2 separate regions of the Homo sapiens genome follow, and region 2 is linked to region 1. The links are contacts of gene promoters, found by promoter capture Hi-C in human tissues and cell types (Jung and others, 2019). All regions are on one chromosome and are shown on one strand. The core of a region is centred on a gene start or on the middle of the fragment in contact, and the rest is flanking DNA. Distances in the headings are between cores, read along the strand shown. Region 1 holds the start of PCSK1 (proprotein convertase subtilisin/kexin type 1). Region 2 overlaps LOC101929710 (a long non-coding RNA gene).

What was found. The method cuts DNA at HindIII sites, captures the fragments that hold promoters and counts their contacts. A contact is called where the count stands out against the background at its distance.
Region 2: a contact is called between a fragment that was not itself captured here and the fragment with the promoter of PCSK1 in region 1, in 1 of the 25 tissues and cell types used here (mesenchymal stem cells).

What each region holds. Positions count from the first base shown.
Region 1 is chr5:96,430,506-96,435,130 of GRCh38, forward strand. PCSK1 (proprotein convertase subtilisin/kexin type 1) reads right to left here and starts at 2,743. Exons shown (of 14, transcript NM_000439.5): 1 at 2,358-2,743. The coding sequence starts at 2,537. All of the region lies in intron 4 of LOC101929710 (a long non-coding RNA gene), which reads left to right. It also overlaps a transcript of CAST not described here and the pseudogene LOC102724070. RefSeq lists silencers at 3,620-3,914, 3,776-3,895. The HindIII fragment of the contact is 6,406 bases long and covers 1,930-4,625 here.
Region 2 is chr5:96,582,339-96,586,963 of GRCh38, forward strand. The region is part of intron 4 of LOC101929710 (a long non-coding RNA gene); the gene reads left to right. It also overlaps a transcript of CAST not described here. Among named protein-coding and RNA genes, the nearest start is that of CAST, 78 kb to the right of the region's middle. The HindIII fragment of the contact is 5,367 bases long and covers 1-4,625 here.

The sequences.
Region 1 (4,625 bases), core at 1,493-3,992:
CACCAGTGCTTAGCTCTGTTTTCTCTGCTGTCAACTGGTTTTTCTTCTTGTCACTACCTTAATCCAAGCTTTATCCTGAGGCAATAAGGTACCCAATATAGTAATGCTAAATTAGTGTAATTTTAGTAATATTAAACAAAAAGAGAAATAAGCAGAACCAGGAACGTGCTATCAGCCTTCTACAAAGAATTATTATTCTAATAAAATAATTTTGTTAAGTTTGTTTTAAAACTTTTGTTAGTAATGCCATCTTAACTAAAAATGGTTAGAGGAAAGATAGTATTGTAAATCATATATAAATATAGATGGTTTTCCCCCACTATTTGTTAATGCTTTTGTGACTATGCTATCCCTTACTCAAAGATCCTCCCAAGAATGATGATGTATTGTTTTTTACTATTAAGATTTATGTTTATTTATTTTGAAAAGCAGTTTTCACATTGAATGGTCTAGGTTTAGATGCATGCCTAGAGCTAACAGGTGGGAAAAAGAAGAGAGATTTAGTTTTTGCTGTCTTCCCCAGTCTCCTCCTACACGGTTACCAGTGCTATTTAGCCTTTCAGTAGCTGCTCAAGGAATACACAATTAAATCCCCAGTGTCCACCCCCATAGGTCATACATGATTTGTATGATGTCCACAGTACCCACCAGCACAATTTCCTCTGCTACTCATACCCTCTTTGGGTCTCAAAAATTCCTAATAATTGCGTGCAATTCCCAGACTTACTACTAAACTGTATTATGTCTCACTGTTTTCCCACAAGCTGTTTTCTATGCCTAGACTGTCTTCTCCGATCTCATTATGTGCTCCTGGCAACCTTTGACTTCTGTTCCCGGAGCAAATGTTTTCTCCTTTGGGCAGTTTTCATTCACCCCTCCCGAATTCCCTACTACTTTCATTCCTTCAACCAATGAATATTGAGACTTCAAGTACAACTTCTATGATTACACAAATTACAATCAGTTGCAATCATTTATCTCTAAGCTAGTCTCCTCTAGATTCTTGATTACTTGAGAGCGTTTCTTTCCCTCCTCTTATTCCTCAGCCCCTAACACGGAGCCTGGCACGAGGGCAAGGGCTGGCCAAAAGCAAAAGACTCATCTGCTGCTGGGACACCAGGAAGCCAATCTGCATTGATTTTCCTTTCGGGCATTTCAAAGACAATTTGGTTTATAAAGTTGAGAATGAAGCCTCTAGCAAGAGCAGGCGAATTCCCCAGAGGGTTCGGTCTACAGAATCGCCAACGCCCCCGCCGATTACTCATCCGTGACTCCAGCGGCGTCTCAACCACCACCTCCAGAAAAAACGCGCCAAAATGTTTTACAACTGCCTCCTCCCACGCTTCAATGCAGACCAACTTCCCAAGCAGGGGGCGAGGGCTTGATTCCGAGCCAAGGAAAGGAAAGCTCTAGACTAGAAGTCACACTCCCTAGGGTCCCCTCGGAATCGCTCAGCTATAAGCAGTCTCCCACTTAATGTCTTGACGCCCACCCACCTCCAACCAGCTACCTATCGACCAAGCCTTCACTTGGACAGGCAACAATAAGCTGAAATTCCCGGGAAAACGATTACGTACTTGGCTGAAGAACAAGAAAGAAATAGATCCCTTCCCCATAGTCAGTTCGGCATCTCGACCCTGCAGTGGGACTGGCCGGGCAAAGTTATGAAGCTTGGACTTTATAAGTTCCCAGTGAAAAGCCGGAGCTCCCTAGAGAGTCGCGGGGATAGATGGTCCCGTGTCTTTCACCCACCATTTCTCCCCCCAGCTTCCCAGGCTACTCCGCGGCCTCCCAACCTCCTGGTCGCGAGTCCCAGCAGCTGGCACTCTTCCAATGCCCTGGGCGTGCCCTTACAGGCTGCCAGGGCGGACAGCCCCAAGCCTGCTTAGCCCCTTGCATCAGGACTTGGATCTGATGCTGCCATATTGAAAAGAAGGCAACAGCCGGCTCCTGACGCAGACCGCCTCAGTCCCGGGGGATGGAGCGCACTGCTTCTCCCGGGGGCGCTTGGTTGGTAAGAGCTTGAGTGTATCTCAAGTTCCCTGAACAAGCGTGGAGGGATTTTTCTTCCAAACCGCGCGGGAACGGATTTCAATTCTAGAGCGGCCAACAGTAAGCATAAGCCCTACCCAGCTGCAGCGGCTTCCTTCTGCTTGGCTGCGCCCAGCCTAAACAGTAAATAATGCAAGCTTTCTCTCTCTCCAAGCGCGACAGGGGCGAGGGCTGGAGCAGCTCCTTGCTCTTTGCTACTCTGGGCTCTGGAGAGTGCAACCTGGGGCTCCCACTTGGAAGACCGCGCTCCAGTCCCGCCAGTCCCCTGGGGCCCCAGAAAGTTTCTTGAAAGTGGAAACTCTTACCTGACCCAAAAGGTCATAGCCCAGCTCCTCGGCGATGGCCGAGGCTGCTTCCGGGCCCCCGGGGATCTCCGCTGCCCATTCATTGACAAATTGCCTTTTCGCTTTTGCACTGTTCAGTGCACACCAAGCGCAAAAGAGGACGAAAGCAGTGCACTGCAGACTCCAGGCTCTTCGCTCCATAGCTCACACACTCGCTTGAACAAGAGTGGGAAGGGAAGAGGAAAAAGAAGCAAGATAGGAGAAAAGCCAGACAGACTCCCCCTTCCCACCCTCGGGCTCTAGACCACTCCTGGCTCCTGGTTGCTCTGCGAAGAGCTAGGAGGCGCGAGAGGAGAGGCTGGGCGGCGGCGAGCGCTCAGTGAAGCGCTTCGGTCTCCAGGCTGAGTGGAGCCCCAGCCCTTCCCAGCCAGAATGGAAATGAGTGTTTACACGTCAAATCGACGAAAGCCATCTCTTGACGTCAGATCTACCTGGACTAAGATCCGAATGGTATTCCCGGCGGGGCGGAGAAGCGGCTAAAATAAGCAGCCAGGGATTAGGAAAAGGAAGGAACTGTTTGCTGGGATCAGTTAAGTCTGCTCCTTGTCTGCCCATAAATTCTGTACCGTGAGAAACATTTTCACTTTTCAAAGAGAAGTGCCCCACTTGAACATAACTACCAAGAATCAAAGGCTGGGAGTGCTTTCCCTCCCTTCCATCCATTTTCTCTGTATTTACTTTATTATCTCATGTGTGTGGCGGGGAGGGGGGGAGGCTATAGGATTCTTATAATGGCCCTTTGGGCATCAGCACCTGCTATGAAGAACAAGGCTCTTAGGTCTTTCAAAGAGAGAGGCTAGGAGAGTAAGGAGAAGAAGGGAAGCTACTACTGTCCCAATTCTGTTCTAAATTGTCTGAGAAAATTAGCATGTCTATGTTAAAGCAATACTATTAAAAATGAATTTTTAACCATTCAAGCCACCTTAGTTTACAAGTTTACTTCCCTCCTCCCCTTTGTTTCTCAACCTCAGTAAAACAATATCAGTAGTTATACTCCGATATTGCAAAGCCAGCGCCACCACCACCTTTTAGGGTGTTTATCAGTAAAATGATTAATCATGTGATTTTAAAAAAACATATTTTTAAGAATTCGTCAACAAGGGGATCTAGGATCCCAAAAGCTGTTGTGTTGATTCAGGGAGGGAAAGAGCAGTTTTTATTTACCTCGACTTTCCATTGTGCCTCAGTAGAGCTCTTCACTTTGGTGCTGAGCTGGAGCTGTGCCATTACTTTCCCATAAAATGCACAATGCCTCTTTGTGGAAAAATGGTTTCCTGTGGGAGGAGAGCAAGGAAACATCTAAATGAATTCTCCACCCCTCACCCTAGGGAAGTGAGTTCAGTCTCCCATGGTGGAGCCTATTCGAACCCTGAGGGATTGAACCTGGCGGGAGATACCAGTGCCTAGTATTCAGCACCGAGGTCTGGACAGCGACACACGCAGGACTGCCGCAGGAGCTGCTCTCTCTTCTGAGCACCAAAGACCTCCACCCTTCTGCAGCTGGCCAGCACCAAGCTGTTTTCCTTTTGATATGTGCATTTCCCTCTTTTGAACAGCAAAATAGGAAATTGGCCGCAGGGGGGAGTGTGGTTAGGTTCATGATCGTGACAACTTGTGTCCAGCTCTTGGGAACGTGTTGGACTCAGGCCAAAAGTAAAATCGCCGGGAGGTGGAATTGAGAGAGTATGCTGCACCTGGGAAGTTTGTTTTTTTTTTTGTTGTTGTTGTTGTTGTTTTTTAAAGCTCAACCGCCCGAGGGCGCGATCTATGCTGTAGAAATAGAAGAAAGGGGAGAAGGTTGGAAAGAAAGCATATAAACAAGTGGAGAAAGGAAGCAAGAGATGTTCCTTACAAGAAGCAAATGAGACAAGACTTGGTGGAGGATCAGGCTCTGTAGTGCTAATTTTTCATTTGCCTCCACGTTTGCAGAAATGTGCACTACATAATTTCTTTAAACATAAAGCATCTTTACAAAATCAAATGCCAATGTTAATAAGCCATGTGACATGGTTAAGTGTTTTACAATAATGTAACTCACATGAGATGAAATGGAATGGGCTCCGATTGATAGCTTTGTTGTCTGTTCTGTAAATCCACATGTGTGAATGTTGATGGCTGGGTAAGCTGTCTTCTTTTCCCTTCACACCTCGGCCTGAGTTGTGGCCTCAAGCTCTCAAGGGTGTTTCATTCTCACAGCAGACAGACACTAACTGTGCACTAGCAAGGCAA
Region 2 (4,625 bases), core at 1,142-3,641, 150 kb after region 1:
TAATAAATTTGGAAAAATGGTTATTGGTTTCTTTATCTCTAATTGTTCAAACAAGATCCGTATTTCAGAAAATGCCTCCTTCATATTCACAGTCACTCGTTGAAAGTGACTAATTTATGACTGGGCAGGGACACAGCGTCAAACACTCTGAGCATATGGATAAGTGACTCGCTGTGTGTCTAAGATCGATGGAGCCTGACGCCTGCTCCCTTGCCAGGAGCGTGGGCCAGCATAAATGTACTCAGGAAGGGGAGAATGGCATCTCATTATGTACTGGGACGGAGTGAGCAGTGCGCGGCTGGAAGCCTGCATTTCCCTCCATTAGCGGTTTGCAAACTGTAACCCTCCCTCAGAGTTGTTTCTGGGGCTCAGCAAGCATTTATTACAAGTGTTTAAAATATGTTTAAATAATTATTTTTAAAAAACTAATTAAAAACCAGAAAACACATTCAATGGAATATATGCCAAGTTTTAACACACTAGAAACCATTAAATATTAATATATATTCTTATTGATAGGCTCTTTAGAAAAGAATGTGAATGTCAATGCATAAGTTTGTATAGAAAATACTGTTTTACCTATTTTGTGATTCATGATTTCATGATTTGTGATTTCTTTTGGAAAAAGCAAATTATGCTAGAATTTTTATAGACCCTTCCCAAAATCACAAGTTAGGGAAAGACAGAAAAGTAAGGGTGAAAGGAACAGAGCCTGAGAAATCGCTGTTAGAATGATTAGTGCATATATTGCCCAAACCTTTAATGGTTTTTATGGCTGTCCTTCAGAACGCCCCACCTTAAAAAAGTCTTTATTAAACTTAGAGCATTTAAGTGTATTTTATTCTTTTCAGAATTGGATAATTTTCTTCTCTTATTCTTTTTTTTTTTTTACTGTATTTTTTTGGCTGGGAGGAGGTTGATGCCAGGAGTTGTATTTGAATTGAATCTTTGGTAATAAGGTTTAATATGATTACTTGCTTGACAATTTCTGTTCAAAGGAGGGGGCTCTTCTCAAAACACTCAGTTCTTTCTCTATTATAAACATATTTTGAGACATTAAATGAACTGGGAAAGTTTCCAGGACAAGGTCTGGAGTTTAAGCACATATGTTCAAATTCTAGATCCACTATCTTTAAAGTAAAGCTTAACATGGGCACAATTTCGAAGTTCTGGCTCAGTTTCCCTTTTTGTAAGATGAAGATAATAATAATATTGACACTATCAGGCTCTGGTAAGGACCAATGGACTCAATATATGTAAAATGTTTAACATGGTGTCTAGCACATGATAAGCATTCCACAAATGTTAGTACCATTATTATTTTCGTACAACTTTTTGCCCACATTTACTATGAGAACTGTTAAGTAACAAACAGAAAAATAGAGGGGGAGACTAAAAGAAAAAGGAGATACCGTGTGCATCTATTTATGTCATATACTCGTCAAAAAGACATTTGTATTGTTACTTGATTTTTCAGTAAATCCTGTGAGCTGTCCACTAGTGAGAACCAAGGTATTGAGAAGTTAAGACACCAAACAGCAAGTGGTAGTGGTAGAGGGGGTAGACAGAAACAAGGGCTTTTGACTCCAAGTCCAGTACCCTTTCTTCCATGGTGTTCCTTCTCTCATAGACGCCAAGATTTATTAATGTTAACCATGGGTTGCCAAATTTTTATTCTCTTCATTATTTTTGATAGGTATGGAATTCCGATGATCCCTAGGTCAGTAGTCGCCAACCTTTTTGGGACCAGGGACCAGTTTTGTGGAAGACAATTTTTCCACAGACAAGGGGTGGGAGGAGATGGTTTCAAGATGAAACTGTTCCACCTTGGATGATCAGGCATTTGTTAAGTTCTCATAATGAGTCCACAACCTAGATCCTTGGCATGCACTGTTCCCAATAGGGCTGGTGCTCCTATGAGAACCTAACGCCGATGATGATCTGACAGGGGACAGAGCTCAGGCAGTAATGCTGCCTCACCACTCACCTCCTGCTGCATGGCCCAGGTCCTAACAGGCCAGGGATCAGTATCGGTCCATGGCCAGGGGAGTGGGGACCCCTGACCTAGATGGTAACCGCCCATTCATTCACTCCTCTGATATTTGTTTTGTGTAAATATATATGACATTGGGCAGCACCTAAACTAGGTGGAGCAAAGTAGGAAAGAATTTAGCAAAGATATTGTATCAGGAAAATAAAACAAAATCACTCCAGTTATTTTAACAGACAAAACGTCATATAGGAAGTTGGTGTTAGAGGTCTGAAAAGGCAAGTAGGAACATGGACATAATATGGAGAAAGTGAGTGCAGCCTTCACCTCTAGGGATGGGAGAAACACAGGGAAGAAGCTGGGGTCATTAGAATCCAGAAGTTTAGAGGAGGAGTCTTTTCAAGTTAAACTCAAACTTCCCAGGAGAAGGCAGCTGATTAGTTGGCACTGGTGTTTCTGTGGGTGTATGAGGAGGAGGCTTCTGCAAGGGAGAAAAACAACTGGAAACTGGAACAACGCAGGCTGCCAGGGCGAAAATGCACTGCTGGGTGATGCTGCAGGAACAGGAAACAAACAGGAAGGACTCGGTCACTTCCCTTTTCTCGAGTTTCCCGTCTCCCTCTAGCACCCTTTGGCAGAGTCTAGCATGGCACCATCAGGCCAAGCTGAAACGTGGTTTGCAGAGAGCCAGCCCCAGCATCACAGGTGAGTTTGGAACTGAGACAATAGATTAACAACTGGCAGATATATGCACATACTGTTATGGCTAATTGATATTAATATGTAAGTTGTGCTACAGAGGAAGAAACTATTTTTTTTACTGGGAAACTCCTAGACTCCATTATATCTAATCGGACTTTACGTCCTGATTTACTGTTTATCTTATATATTATCTCAGCTTCTTCAGCCCTTCTCCATTCCCACTCACAACGCTCCAGACTAAACCCGTATCATGTCTTAGTTGGCTTATTCCAGTTGATTTCCCCACCTCCAAGTTTACTACCTCCAGCCCATCCTACCTGCCAACAGAACAATTCCTATTACTCCACTCTTAAGGCCTTTAATTAATCTTTAACCTACAGAATAATATCTAAACTTATTCATAGAATACAGGCTGCCTCTCCTTCCAACCTGCCCACCTCCTACCTCAGATCTCATCTATACTAAAACTGCTCAAAACCTTTGCTTTAATATTATACCATAGCAAAGTTGAGGGGTAGGCTGGGGAGCTAAGGAAAAGCAATATGTGTTTAGAATGAAAGAATTACCACAATCAAACACATCTATGATTAACTGCACCCAGCATTCTCTTGCTGGCAAAAGCATTAGGGGCTAACAGAAAGAAGGACATTGAGAGAGTTGCCCAGTCACCCAACAACTCATAAAAATCTGCCAAGGACCAGAAACCATATAAAAACAAACACACATATTTTAAAACTTTTGGATGTTTAATATTTCAAAAATATAAATAATAGCCAAGCAATGGTTTTTGAAAAGATATAGAGACGTGCAGGACAAATTTTCTCGTCTTTGGTGTCCAAGGATTGTATTATTAACAACTTTCTTAGACACGAGTTGGTGAAACAGCTGGCGTTTCTATTAACAAAACAGTTTTAAAACGATTGTAATATCTTTCCAATAATGAAATGTCTTTTCAAGAGTAAAAACTAACAGCTAAGATATACTGAAAAATTTTATGTGTCAGGCTCTATTCTAGGCACTTACATATATTGTCTCATTTATTTTTCACCAGCTCATTTATTTTTCACCAGCTCCCTATAAAGTAGATACTTTTATTATCCCATTTTATAGATAAGGAAGCTGAGGCTCTATGAAGTTAATTATCTTGCCCACTACTAGGTGGTGGTAGCACTAGCTCTTTGAGGGTCAATAAGGTGAAAAGTTAGTAACTACTTGTGAATGGCTCCTTTTTTTTCCCCTGTGGCTAGAAATATGTTTTTGTATTTGGTTTAAATCTTCGTTTTGTTTAAATGGGGTTTTAAAGGTCCAGGGAAATAATTTTTTCAATGGGCTGTATCATATCATAATTTAACACTGGCAGGTGGCTTTTTAATTTAGTGGTTGATAGATACTATAATATAAATGAGCTCAATTGTGCCTTGAATTAAACAAGAATAGTTATAGCCACAAGACAGAAGAGAAGCCACATTTCCTATCCTGGGAGTTCAATGTAGGTTAGAATCCAGGGGCTTAGCTGAATCAGAGACAGATCTTGCTGAAGCAACAGTATGATGAGAAAGTTAGCTCATCAGAATAAGTTGGAAATCTAGTAACCATTTGGCAGAAGATTGCAATTCATAAAAGCAAGTATTTCCAAAGGCAGCCACATCGGTGATAGATTTGACCCTTACAACCAACACCAAAGTAAAGAACTGCTGGTACAAAGTAAAAGTTCCAGTATAAATTACATACCTACCATGAGTTAACCACAGATTAATTCACAAAGAGTTGAGAAGACAATTAATAATCTTACTGTTTATCAGACATCTACTAGGTGTTAGCCAGGCACTCTGTTAAGCCCTCTATGTATGTGATCCCATTTTAACCTCAGATAAACCCCATGGAGCATTTTTATCTCCGTATTACAGATGAGGAAATAGAAGTAAATTAGAAT